2 separate regions of the Homo sapiens genome follow, and region 1 is linked to region 2. Evidence: promoter capture Hi-C in 16 types of primary human blood cells and fetal thymus (Javierre and others, 2016). All regions are on one chromosome and are shown on one strand. Each heading gives the region's core, a stretch centred on a gene start or on the middle of the fragment in contact. The rest is flanking DNA. Distances are from core to core; before and after follow the strand shown.

Region 1 (6,981 bases), core at 1,555-4,054, 1.0 Mb after region 2:
ACAAAAATGAATCCTGAATAAAGCTGGGCCACCTTGGGGTTGGTCTCAGCTGAGCATTGTGTCCAAAAGAATCATGACTCCAACTCCAAAAAAGCCTTGCAACTTAATGTAAGAAGTCCCTTGGAGGCCGGGCACAGTGGCTCACACCTGTAACCCCAGCACTTGGGGAGGCCTAGCCGGGTGGATCACTTGAGGTCAGCAGCGTGGATCACTTGAGGTCAGCAGTTCGAGACCAGCCTGGCCAACATGGTGAAACTCCGTCTCTACTAAAAATACAGAAATTAGCTGGGTGTGGTGGTGGGCACCTGTAATCCCAGCTACTCAGGAGGCTGAGGCAAGAGAATCACTTGAACCCGGGAGGCACAGGTTGCAATGAGCTGAGATCACACCACTGCACTGAAGCCTGGATGACAGAGTGAGACTCTGTCTCAAAAAATAAAATAAAATAAAATAAAATAAAATAAAATAAAATAAAATAAAATAAAATAAAATAAAAGTCAGGAGAAGCAGATGAGGAACCACATTGCACACATTGCATGACACAGAGTGGAACGTTCTAAAATCTTTTTGTTTTGAGATGGAGTCTCCCTCTTTCGCCCAGGCTGTAGTGCAGTGGCATGATCTTGGCTCACTGCAACTTCCACCTCCTGGGTTCAAGGTTCAAGCAATTCTCCTGCCTCAGCCTCCTGAGGAGCTGGGATTACAGGCACATGCCACCACACCCAGCTAATTATTGTATTTTTAGTGGAGACGGGGTTTCACCATGTTGCCCAGGCTGGTCTTGAACTCCTGGCCTCAGGTGATCCACCCGCCTCAGCCTTCCAAAATGTTGGGATTACAGGTGTGAGCCACCACGTCCAGCCTCTAAAACCTTTTTCCAAAGTCTCTCTCATCTCAGTAACAGCCCCCCTTGCTGCTGCTTCGTTGGCTGTGCCCTCTGGATTCCATTGCTTTCCACAGTCACTCCATAACCTTTCTGATAGGAACCCTTTAGCCTCTCAGCTCCCTCTAAGGCTCTTCCACAGTCACCCCTGGTCAACACAGCGACAAGAACAGGAGGCAACACAGAACCTCCCAGACTGTTGGTGGGGAGGGGTCGTGTGTGTGAATTTTTGTTGTCCCTGATAAATGTACACTTTATACCCTCCAGTGGCTTCCATCTCCTTTCCATGAGCCACAAGGCCCTACTTATCCAGTCTCATCTCTGTTCCAGCCACACTGGCTGCCCTGTTTGTCCCCAGATACCCACCACTCTCCAGCCTCAGGACACTGGCACTTACTGTTCTTCTGCCTGGAACTTTTACCATAAATAACCAAGTGACCAGGTCTTTCCTTTCATTCAACTCTCTGCTCAGATAACTCCTATTAGCGAGCCTGTCCCTGAGCTCCTGGTCTAAAATAGCAACCTCCTTGCTCTCCATCCCTTCACCCTGCTGGATTTTCCTTCGGAGCACTTATCACCACTTCACAATGTCTGTTTATTTATTATTTACAACTCCCACAAGGAAGCAAGCTCCACATGGGGAAGAACTTTGTCTATTTTGCTCTCGGCTGATTCCTCATGCACAAAAAATATTTGTTAAATAAAATGAATGGAGAGTTAGCTATTCATCAAAATTTTATTAGAAAGCTAATAAACCCTTAAATAAGAATGTGTTTTCCTTTGAACACTTGACGCTTGTTATTTGTGTAGTCACATGGTTTCTAAAGATCTCTGTGTCCTAGATGCTCCTTTTGCTGCTGTTGTGGCCTCTGTGCCTCACATGTCATGTGGCGTCTTCTGATCTCAGCCTATGTTACCCTTTTGTTGTATATAACAGCCTATGTTACGCTTTTGTTGTATATGAAGTCCGGGTTTTTCAGTCCACTTTCCGATTCAAGCTACTTGGTCTCTTTGAATCCCCTAAGCCTTTGCTCCCAAGAATCTCCAGTGCAAGTGTTCACAGACTGTGACCTAGTTGATGGCAGGTCATCAGCTTCCAGAAATGTCTACTGCCTGTGAATCCCTAGGGTACTGGCATCTTGAAATACTGAAGGCCCCAGAGCCCTTGCCTTGCCAGCACGTCTGATGTCTGTGAGCTTTGGGAACTAGCAGCACTGAGGGCTTCAGCACATGTGCCTCCCAGCATTAGGAGGGCATTCCTGGTGAGAAGGAAAATGGGCCTCAAAGCAACTGCATTTGAAGGCTGGCACCCATGAACACATTTCCTCCTCCAGAATGTCCCTGATGGCCTCTCTTACTGAGCACTCTCCCAGAAGCACCACCACAGATGTCAATAATAACTAAAAAGCAAAGCATTCTGCATGGTAAAGAATTTCGCCTTGCCCAAAGACAGGTCAGCCTTTGCCCTGAGCTGCTTTCTTTGTTTAGGGCAGGGCCTGGACCCACCAGATCTTAGGATGGAGCCAGTCACACCAGAGAGGCCATTTATGTAACTGAGAGTAGAGGCTTTGGGTCACATGGTATCAGTTGACCTAGAGGCTAAGATCAGCTAGGTGGGCAATCAATCAATCAATCAGTCATGCATATGTCTCGGGGCCGCAATAAAACTCCTGAACACTGAGGCTCAAGTAAGCTTCCCTGGGTGGTAATATCCCTTATGTATTATCACTCTTGGGTACCAGGGAAATAATGTGTCCTAGGAATGACAGAAGATTCACTTTTGGAACCTTCCTAAACTCTGCCCTATGCATCTCTTCCTTTGGCTGATTTTAATCTGTATCCTAATCTGTATCCTTTTCCTGCGATAACTAGGAGCATAATAGCTTTTGGTGGGTTCTGAAGTCCTTCTAGTGAATTCTCAAATCTGAGAATGATTTAGGGAACCCACCCTCTAAACTTGCAGTTGGTGTCAGAAGTAAGGCCAATCTTAGGTACTATGTCCTTGAGCCTCACAGTTTGGCTAACTGTGGGTATATCCCCACACCATGAGAAGACTGGAGCTTCTGCTCCAATATGTTTCAATTCAGTACAATATGTAGCTTTCTCCTTGCATTTAACTTTCATTTTAATATATCTTTATATCACATTTAAAAGCTTTTGTGGGAAAAAGAGACTTTTAAAACTGGAAAAAAAAAACTTGTCTTTGGTACTTATATGATATTTGCATCAGTAATCCCAACATACTTTGAGAATACTGAATTTTGAAATTATTTCCCAGAGATGTATAAATTTTTCACCATAAGTCACCTGCCTGAGACCTCACAGCGTTCATGGCAAAACTAAGAACAGAACATGCAGTGCCTGATTTCTTAGTCTGCCCAATAGACCATGGTCAGGGCCAGGAGCACATTAAGCTTGAAACACGCTGGACAGCACACAATCCCCAGTGCAGGGCAGGTGGAGGGCTGATCCTGGAGGAGACAAGGCCACTTGTCTGTCTCAGGGAAATTACAAAAATGATAGCGGGGAAGCCACAGGTGATTCTAAACTCAAAGTTATTGCAGGGTAGTGAAATATGAGTCAGTTAGCAGCAGACATGAAAGTAGAAAGAAAAAATAGAAGGTGTAAAGAAGGATGGGAAGGTTCTTAGAAGATGTGAATATGGAGAAAAAGTGGGGTGGGCCTCCAATAGAAGAAAGGTAAGCGTGAGAGCTGGAGAATAAGCCCAGCTCATTCCTGCTCTGGGAAAAACCATGGATTTTGCTAAATTCTTTCTCCCTTATCTTTTCAATCAGCCAACACTTAACTCTAGGGGACTTCAGCAAAAACTAATATTGCACATGAAGTGCTCTTCTTCAACCCAGGAAATTGAATTTTGATGAGAATAAATGAAATTTAAACCTTAAAACTTTGCTAAATATCTGAAATTTAGTATCATACTTCTGAAGTCAAAGCAAACTCTTAGCGTAGAAATAATGTTCTTTTCCACCTTGAGGATGAAGGGCAGAAGGGGAGGGTGAGGGGAAATGCTCTGTCTATAACTGATGGAATGGAGAGGATTAGGAGACAAAGGCAGAGAGGACATCATCACCTTTACTCAGCAAGAAGCAAAGGGAGAGGAGAGACCCTAATCTTTGTAAAAAAAATAAATGAATAAATAAAGGGACATTTGGAAAAGGAAGAAAGAGGAGGACAGTGGGGTGCAGGGACTCTCAACTTAGCTGGGCTCACTCATCTCATGCCCAACAGCCATTCCTCCCTGATAGCCAAACTCTAATTGTATCCCAAACAATATGTTCAGCCCTAAATAATGACTTGTGATTGATCAAAGCCAACGATTACAATCCTGTTCCTGTTACCAGGCAGTTGATTTCCCAGCCTCCCTTTTAATGAGGAGTAGCTGTGTGACTCAGCTTGTGACAAAGAAATGTAAAAGGAAGCCTGCTAGGAGGTATCTGGGAAAATTTTTGCTTTTCTGTTAAAAGAGGCTGATATGGCTGATGCCACCTCTCTCCCTCTTCCTGCTTCAAACATAGGTCATGATGCCTGAAGCTGTGGCAGCCAGCTTGTAGCTATAAGGGACAAAACAAGAGTGTCACAGGGACACCAGCCATAATATCATCAAGCCACTAAATGGAGCCATCAGCTCCCACTCCAGATGCTCCCAATCCCAGTCAATGAGAAGAATTAGAACTTGTTTGCCTAAGCTACCCTTGGTTGTATCTGTTCTTCCTAGCAGCAGCTGAATGCAATCCCAATACAAAACTCATATTCTAAGAAAATGTTGCCTTTATGACTGGTAAAATCATATTTTGATTACCACTGGAAAAAAAACATAAAAAATGTTCTAGTGCTCACAGATCTCATCAAAGAGGCCTCTGATCCCTGGGGATACACAAATTGCCATTCGAGAAGAACCAAGCTAAGCCAGAGAAGCAACTACAGACAAGTAAGAAAGACAAGGCATTGACTGGAAGAAAAAGATCAACTCGAGAAAGCAAAAATATAGGAAAAAGACACCGGGCATAACAGCATCTCACTTGTAAAGGGAACATGGCAACAAGAAATCCATGGGTCAGTGAGAGAGAGAGAGAGAGAGATAGAGAGAGAGAGAGAGTGGCCTTCACCCTTCATTCCAGACAGCACCAGCTGGAGCCACAGTGAGCCACATGTCTGTGGGCGTCGGGGGCTGCTGAGAAGTTGCCTCTCTGGCTTTTGGGATGACAAGCCCAGAGCTATAGCACAGGCCAGTTGCTTCTGTAATAAGCATTTGTTAGATCACCCTAGCCTTCCAGAAGCTGAACATAAATCGAAATCCACAGTCCTTGAAATCAAGAGTTATCCTCTGACTGAGAACGAGAATGGGGTGAAATCAACAAAAATGAAAAGGAAAATCAGGAAAAACAGGAGGCAAGCCAGCTGGGGACCCATGTCTTCCTCTATCTTCAGAAATCTTTACTCCTTTAGTCCTGAACAGCATGACTCATATTTTTTTAAATAATATTTTCTATTGTTTTAGGACCTTTTGATTGAAGACAGTGGTGTTACAACAAAGAAGTCATGAATTCATTTTCTCTCTCTCTGTGTGTGTGTGTGTGTGTGTGTGTGTGTGTGTGTGTGTGTGTGTGTGTGTCTCTCTCTCTCTCTCTCTCTTTCATCTTGCCAATGTTGCCTAGACTGATCTCAAACTCCTGGCCTCAAGGGATCCTCCCACCTCAGTCTCCCAAAGGGCTGGGATTAAGGGTACAAGCCAGAACATCTGGCCTGCATGACTTATATTTGAAACTGAGTTCTACTTAAAGGAAATCCAATACGTAAAATTCCAAACCTACAAAACAAATTGAAAGATCAATAACTTTTTAAGTGGATAGTTCATTTTCCATACTGCAGGTTTTCTTCATAAAATGAGTTTTCCTAGTACATTTACTCCAAGATTTGAATTAAGCAGGAGTCTTGAGCAGCCTGGCCACATATAGCCAAATACCAAGTGCTTCCTGGTTCACAAAATGACCTGTTTGTCCTCATGACAACCTTATTTGATCTTTATGACAACCCTACGATTACGAGAGGAATAGATACTCTTTCCAGAATGTTTTTTGTTCAAAGAACAAACATTCATTTAAAAAATAGGCTTACTTTTAGCTGAGCATTAAATAAATGTGTTCATTGTAGAGAAGCAGAAAGAAAAAAAGAAATCCTCCATACCCCAGAGAAAACCACCATGATTTTAAGCTTTTTTTTTTCAGTCTTTGTGCTGTGCACAGACATGGTAATACTCATTAGACAATTTTATTTTCAGAAGTTTTTCACCTAACATTATAACATGAATATTTTCTCAGGATATTCAGCTACTCTTACTGTCATTTTTCATGATTGCACAGTATAATTTCCATAATTATTTCTAATAATTGAAATGCTTCTTTGCCCATTTTGTTTTGAGTTACTCTGTGAGTGTCATTTAAGCAAAAATGTAAATGAATTATGCTACTAGAAAATGTAATAAGCTAATCATTCTCCCTATTGTTGAGGTTTGCTTCCTACCAATTATTCTCTGATCAACATCTTTATGTATAACTCTTTTTCTATATCTCAGGTGAATTTTTTTAGAATAAATTACTGGAGATGGAGCTACTGGTCCAAAAGGAATAGATGTTTTAAGGTGCTGTTTGCAAAAGTGCTTCCCAAAATGACTGTACCAATCTACATTCTCAAAATATCCCTTTGACCACACTGTCACCAGCATGGAGTAAGCATTTTAAGAAACATTTGCTTATTTATAGGTAAAAATCATATTTTATTATTATATTAATATGCACAGTTTTATCTCTGAGTTTGAACACCTTTCCAGAAATGTATTAACCAGCTATAATTTGGTTTTTTGTAAAGGATGTGGTCCTAGAGCAGAAACAAACCTCATTTTACTGCTGAGGAAACAAAACCTGGAGGAATTTAAGCCATTTCCCCAAGGCTAAACAATTACTAAACTGGCTAAGTGAGGAATCCAACTCAGGCTTTTTGAAGCTGACCTAAGTAATTTCCCCTCCCCACCACCATCATACGGATTTTTTAATTCTTCAAACCTATCTGCAAGATTTAAC
Region 2 (6,807 bases), core at 2,778-5,277:
TATTATATGCTAAAACATTTTCTTTGACCTAAAAGTTCATTTTTCTCTTCTGATTTTAAAAGAAATTAAAATATTTTTTGGCCCCTATAAGTATTATAGACCCTAGGCACTGAGCTTGCTATACCTGACAGGTAAGTTGCCCCTTTAGGGAAGACCTCATACTGAAAACTGGCTAAAAACAACCTATTATTTTCTTCAAAGATTGCAAAATATTAATTTTTTGCATAGTTGGTGCTCAATAAATATCAGTTGATTAAAAATATTCAGAGATGTTAAGACTTCTCCTGTAACAAATCTGAATATTTCTCTCTAAATCTATTATTTCGCTCCTCAGAGTATGGTCCACAGACCAGTAGCCTCAGCCCCAACTCAAACTTATCAGAAATGAAGAATATCAGACTCCATCTGCTACTAAGTCAGAATTTGCATTTTAACAAGATCCCCAAGTGACTCATATGCAGATTACACGGAAGCCCTGCTCACCTGCAATTTAAACCTGATGGTTTAACATTGGAAATGGAAGAGCTGATTCCCCTTAACCACATATAATTGAGTGCGATCCTCACCCTCCTCCAGTGTCAATACATTCAGTTCCTTTAGTCCAGTGGTTCCCAACTTTGGTTGAACATTGGAATCACCTGGAGAGCTTTCAAAAAACGACCAATAACATGGGCCCAATTTTCTGGAGATTCCGAATGATTGATCAGGTGGGCGTTCTGGGAATCAAGATTGTTTTAAAGCTTCCCAGGTGATGCTAATGTGTAGCCAGAATGAGAACTACTGTGTGGATTTCCCCATGAGATCTGTCCCCTGGTTTTAATAATGTTGGCCTCTTTTCTCTGTGTTCTCCGACCTTCCTAGGCTGGACAACCAAGTTTATAATCCAGAAATAGTTTCTTGTCTTGGGGTCTGCCATGCCCTATTAATTATCTCAAAGCTCTGAAGTGTTCTCCTAATACAACCATACACTAAAAGATTAACTGCCACTATTTTCCACATCCTTATTATGTGTCCTGTAATCACTTTCAGTCACGTAATCCTCACAATGATAGTATATGCTGTTCTTATGCCCATTATACAGATGAGGAAATGGAGGCTTAGAAAGGTTGTATCTTCCCAAGATCATCCTATTTGTATTCCAGAGTTTGTTCACCTCCTATTAAATCTACCATTTTCTAGTATCTTGCTTTCACTTAAGAAACACTAGTAATTCCCTAACTCACGTGGCTAAACATCAGATTTACAATTATCCAATTTTTGAGAATTATTGACAAAGGAAATATAATGAAGGCCAGGAAATAATTAAATAGATAATATAATTAGCAGTGGTTATAATTCATTAAAGTTTGAAAATGGTGACATTTTTCTTCTTGCATAATGGATGTGATAGTTCAATTAAAAAACAAATACTAAATACTCCAGAAATGCCCTGTGTTGGGACTGTGAAGATTACAGGGGTAAGGAACAGGTTTTGTCCTTGAATTTCAAGTTGAAGGGAGGATAAGAGCCTACAGTTGTCCAACATGTGACAGTTAATATAATCAGGTGCTACACTGTGTAGTAAGGCCATTATGCTTTGCCAAAATTCAGAGGGTAGCAGAAACCAGGACAATGTAAGGATTTATGGAGGAGGTCTATCTGGAGTGAAGTATGTAAGGATGAATGGGGATTGAATCTCTAGAAAAGACAGAGCTGAGCTAGGACATTGGCATAATACTCACTAGGCAGTTAGAATTTCCCTAACTGAATGGCCAGCCTGGTTTCTTGCTGGCTGAATGTCCCTTGTCTGTAGAGAATATATAGTCTTTGAATTCAAAACAAATGCTGTCCCAGCCAAGCTTAGTGCCAGCAATGTCCTGAGTGACCTATATCTGGAGCAGTGAAATCAATCAGGTGCAAAGGGTTATTTACACAACTGATAGCTTCCTGCCTCAGATAGTCACGGCTTCTTTTAAGGTTGCTGAAGCAAACACTTTGCTTAATATTTGAACCTAGAGAAGTTGAAAGCCAAGTACGTATTTAAATATTGATCAAGCTCAGGGCTTGAGAGCAGGCAAGAAAACTGCAGCTAGCATTGTATGTCCTTGGGTGGTGAGAGTTTCACAATTACTAGTTTTGCTGGTTTCTTTTTAGTGGGGAAGGGGCTTGGGGGTAACTTCTTATAATATTTGTTCCTCTTTCCACATTTTTTTGTTTTTTAAAAAAAGATACATACCTGCCAGAATTAAAAAAAAAAAAAAAAGAAAAAGAGGGCTTCAGTACTAGTGATATGAAAAAGGACAATAACAACAAAGGCTTCTAACACATCACCATGTTTATTCACCAGAGTTTGGAAACCATTTTTGTCTGGCATGTTGATTCAGTTAATCTTCAGTTCAAGTGATTCTCCTGCCTCAGCCTCTCGAGTAGCTGGGATTACAGGCACGCACCAACACACCCAGCTAAATTGTGTGTTTTTGTGGAGACGGGGTTTCACCATGTTGTCCAGGCTGGTCTCGAGCTCCTGACCTCAGGTGATCCACCCGCCTCAGCCTCCCAAAGTGCTGGGATTACAGGTGTGAGCCACCACGCCCTGCTCAAAATTTTTTCTATTTTTGAAAAGAATATTATTGCTTTTATTTTTATCTTGTGTACCTTGACACTGGGCAGGATATATATATATATTTTTTTTTTCTTTTTTTTTTTTTGTGGCAGCGCCTGAGGCCAGGCCTTGAGTTCACAGCTCTGTGGGGCTGAGGGTGGAATCAGCTGGGATGACAGCCCAGGTCAGGAGTGCAATGCCAGTGTTGGGGTCCCTTTCCCAAGGCGGAATTGCAGCCTTTGCCTTGGAACAGGGCTAAGGCATTCAGACACACGATGGTCTTTCTCTTGCTAATCTCAGCCTTTCTCAGCATTCGTATCAGCAAGGTGGGCTGGGGAAGGTGGCGGCTGGAAGGGAGACAGAAAAGGCCCAGGCCCAGGAGAAGTGGTGGTGGCAGCCTGGGAGCTGGGCTCCATTCTGGCTTGGGATCTTGGTGGCCAGCTTCCTCGGGCCACACCTTTGTTATGGTTCTGTGCGTAGCCAGTCTTCAAAGGAAAAACAAAGCAGAGACTCAAGGTGATTTTATAAATTTTATTAGAAACTTTATATTTCAATACTAATTTCCTTACAAATAGTCTTAACTATAACACTTACTGCCACAGCAGTCTCAGATGGGCAATTTTACCTTTAAAGCTGCAATAATGGTCTTAAGTCTGTATATGAGAGCCTGGCTGATGAAGAGGCTTGGCTTCTGCTCTTGGGGCTGTCATCACATCTAAGAGGAAAACTGCTTTGGAGGATAAGGAAGTCCCTTCACATTGCTGTTCATTGTAAAAGTGGTTATGGTTTTCATACGTTTTTGAATTAAGACTTGCAGCCACTTGCGTGCATAAACGTGAAGGGAATCGCAGCTTGCAAAGCTCTCGGCCAGGGAACATGAGCTTCAAATAAGAGGGCAAATGCTGTTTTTAAAAATAATATTTCCTATTGTAATAGACCCGGGCCGTATTATGTCACGGGTGTGGTGGCTTTTGGCTGGGAACAGCCTGAGCCTCCCTCGGGCCTGGCACAACTCCTTTCGCGAGCGGGCAGCCCAGCGCCTCCCTCGGGAGGCGCCAAGGCGTGGGGGCGCCCGGGGCGCAACTGGCACTCCTGTGGCCCGCCAGGTCCGCGCCAGCCTCCGCGCCTCCGATCTCCGGAGGCCAACGGCCGCAGCCCCGCAGCGGGAGGGGGCTGGCGGAGACAGCGCGGTAGGGGCAGCTTCAGGTTTCCTCCTGGAGCCGGTGTCGGGCGCGGCCGGCGGGCGGGCCTCGCCATGTGATGCGGCCGCCGCGAGCCGGGCCGGGAGGTGGGCAGGCGGGGATCCAGTGGCAGCGGGGAGGCGCGGGGGGAGCGGGGGGAGCGGGGGCGGCACCCGCTGCTGGCGCAGCCAGCCGGGCCCGGGCGCGCGGCCGCGGCTCCACCCCCTAAACCTTGGCTTCAGCCCGGCCGCCGCCAGGCGTTGGCATCGCCGGGGAGAGCCTTCCGGACTCCGGGCGGCGGCTGGCTGGGGGCGCGTTCCGAGGCGCCCTCAGGCAGGGCGCGGGGGCAGAGCCTCGCCTGGGTTCTGGAGGCTGCGGGGCCATCGCTCCAGGTAAATGCTCTTTGGGACTCCATCGTCTGCGTTTCCCTGCAGCTCTGGGCGGAAAAGTTTGTCCACCTGAGTTCGCATCCGCAGGGCCACTTTCTCCAGGGTCCCCAGGGATGCGAGGGTCAGCAGAGGTGACCGGGGAACCGCTGCAGGCGCTGCGGCGCGAGGGCTGGGCGCCGCCTCCCGCTCCCTCGGGAGCGGCAACAAGTGGAGAGGGCGGCGCAGCCTCGTGCGGCGGCGGCAGCTGCGGAGCGCGGGGTCGCTCGGGCGCACTGAGAGCCGGGGGCTGGGCGGGTGAAAGCCCCGCCAGTGTCCTTCGGGAGACAGGGAAATAAACAGCACTCCTGCGGTGGAGAAGGGAGAACGTCGAGAGTTGGTGTCCGCCCTTCCCATCCATGCTTCAGCTCCGGGACTGAGGGTGCTTGGCAGGGCCAGGACCGCAGAATGCAGACGGAACGCAAGCTCAGGACACACGCACTACCACTTACTCGTGTGGAAGCATCTGCTGTGTTTCAAAAGGCATTTATGGTTACCTTGGTTGGGAAAGGTGGTCAGAATTATGTGGGACTCCTTACGCTTATTTTATGGATTTGTTTCCCCTTAAATACCCGGGGTGTATGTGGTGGTGCCCCAGCCTTCCCGTGCTTAGGTTTTCCGAATGACAGGCCGGTGTTTGGCCAAGAAAGCACCATTTGGGTCGAGGGCTGTATGGAAACTGGGTGCTCAGGCGGCCCTGGATACCCAGCTTTGGTTTCCCAGAGACCAGTTAGATTTCTAAGAAAGAATCCATCTCTATAGGCCCACAGCGTCCCCGCATTGGTTGGCTGGGTGGGCCGAGGAACAGTGGCAACATCTGTGTTTGTGCGGCTTCTCCCGCCTTGACCCCTGCCTGGGTATCCACACATCTCCTCACACCAGGAGTTATAGAGGTTCACCACGGACCACACCAATTGGGCAAAATCCAAAGAAAGTAAGATCTTTAATTTTCGTTTATAAAGAACTGATCATTTGGGGTTCCATGGGGCCCCTGGCTTTCTGAAGCGTTGTTATCTTGTGTTCCTAGGCCCTGAAGCTGTCAGGTGTAAGTGAAATCCTGTTTTCACTGCAAAAACAAATCAAGGACCTACCCTTGTTAGGTTCTGTGGCATCTACTTTGTACATGACAATCCAAGCGTAGTGATGACTTCTGGGAAACCTGGGAAGGTTTCTCTAGATCTGTCCTGGGTTTTTAGTTACACATTCCTAAAGCACATGGGTATTTGCCTAATCTTGATTAATAGCCAAAGTAACCCCTTTGGAGTATTTGCAGAAAAGAGATGAATATGGCAAAACCCTTTGGAATTTTTAATACAACATAGTATTTCAATGTAATGTTCTGATGTGGACTCTATATGTGATTATTGGGCTGATTAACTTTGATCAAATAGGAATTTGGCTAGCATCAGATCTTATAGCTAATGGTTAGGGAAACTGAGGCTCAGAGCTAGCTATAGAGTGTGTGACTCAGATGAATGTCTTGGGTAATGGGAGAATGGAGAACAGAGAATCAGTGTTTGTCCTGCTTTTGACTTTTTTTTTTTCCTTATCAAAACCACACAATCTGGCCAACTAAGAACAGGTTGTATAGCAGGCGTGTCATTAGACTTTCCTCTGAAGTACCCAACTGTCCTTTAAGCAGTTTATAAACACTTAAAGGTAAAGAAGAAAAATAGTAGTTAATAACTAAGTTTCTATGAAATGTCTCAGAAGCCTCACTTGGGTGGGTTTCATACTTTTTTTTTTTAATTATGTGAGTACTGCAGAAGAGTTTGGAATGTTTTCTTATTGTGTTCTTATAAGAAACTACACTTGTGGCTAAGACTTAAATTGGGCAGGAATTTCAGGTGAGCTCTGATACATGACCTCCTTTAGTATGCCCCGTGAGAAAAGACTATGTGTTCTAAGTAGGTATTAAAACAAATTGCAGCATATACTATTACTTCTATATTAAACATTCTGTACACCACTATATTGGTACCCAAGCTCCAACAAGTCCTGCCAGTTTATGACCAAGGACTGAATTCCAAGAAAAAAAGATTCATGATATAAATGTTGGAAAAGCCTCACCACTTGGGCATGGCTAGGATGGTACTGAACAGAGCCTAAATTACCTAGGCTGACTATAATTTTATTATGCTTTTATTTACTAATCAGATATGACAGATCTGGTTTGTGTAGGTTTTGTGTAATTGCATTTGTATTTATGTTGCTTTTAGTGAAGCAGAGTAGCTCTGGGATCCCCCCACCGGCCCCCGCCCATAACCTTAAATAAGATTTGTTATGAAGAGGTGGGTCAACCTGGGCAACTCCTACTGAGGATGTAAAAACAGTGTTACATTTGAAGTGCACCAAATTCAGGGAATTCTGCCATGCTAAAGTTGTGCTGTAAATATGCCACCCTGTCAGACTTGAGTCCACATCTCTACTTAGGCAAAGCTGGGCTTTGAGATATTTTTCTTGCTTAAGAAGTGTAGGTCAGGTCCTGTATCACAGAGCATTTTGCTCCATTTGTATGATACTCTGCCATTTTGTCCAGTCTCTGTGACCCTTAGTTCTTTTGTTATTATCATGGTATTGGAAGTTCTCGGAAGCCCAAGGCAGTGTCACTCTACTATTT

The links. The method cuts DNA at HindIII sites, captures the fragments that hold promoters and counts their contacts. A CHiCAGO score of 5 or more calls a contact.
Region 1: a fragment that was not itself captured here is called in contact with the fragment with the promoter of ARHGEF28 in region 2 in 1 of 17 cell types (M0 macrophages); the score reaches 5.0 in M0 macrophages.

The regions. Positions count from the first base shown.
Region 1 is chr5:74,656,049-74,663,029 of GRCh38, forward strand. It overlaps a transcript of HEXB not described here. Among named protein-coding and RNA genes, the nearest start is that of ENC1, 19 kb to the left of the region's middle. The HindIII fragment of the contact is 461 bases long and covers 2,575-3,035 here.
Region 2 is chr5:73,622,169-73,628,975 of GRCh38, forward strand. ARHGEF28 (Rho guanine nucleotide exchange factor 28) reads left to right here and starts at 4,028. Exons shown (of 36, transcript NM_001177693.2): 1 at 4,028-4,154. RefSeq lists a silencer at 3,737-3,826. The HindIII fragment of the contact is 6,049 bases long and covers 1,837-6,807 here.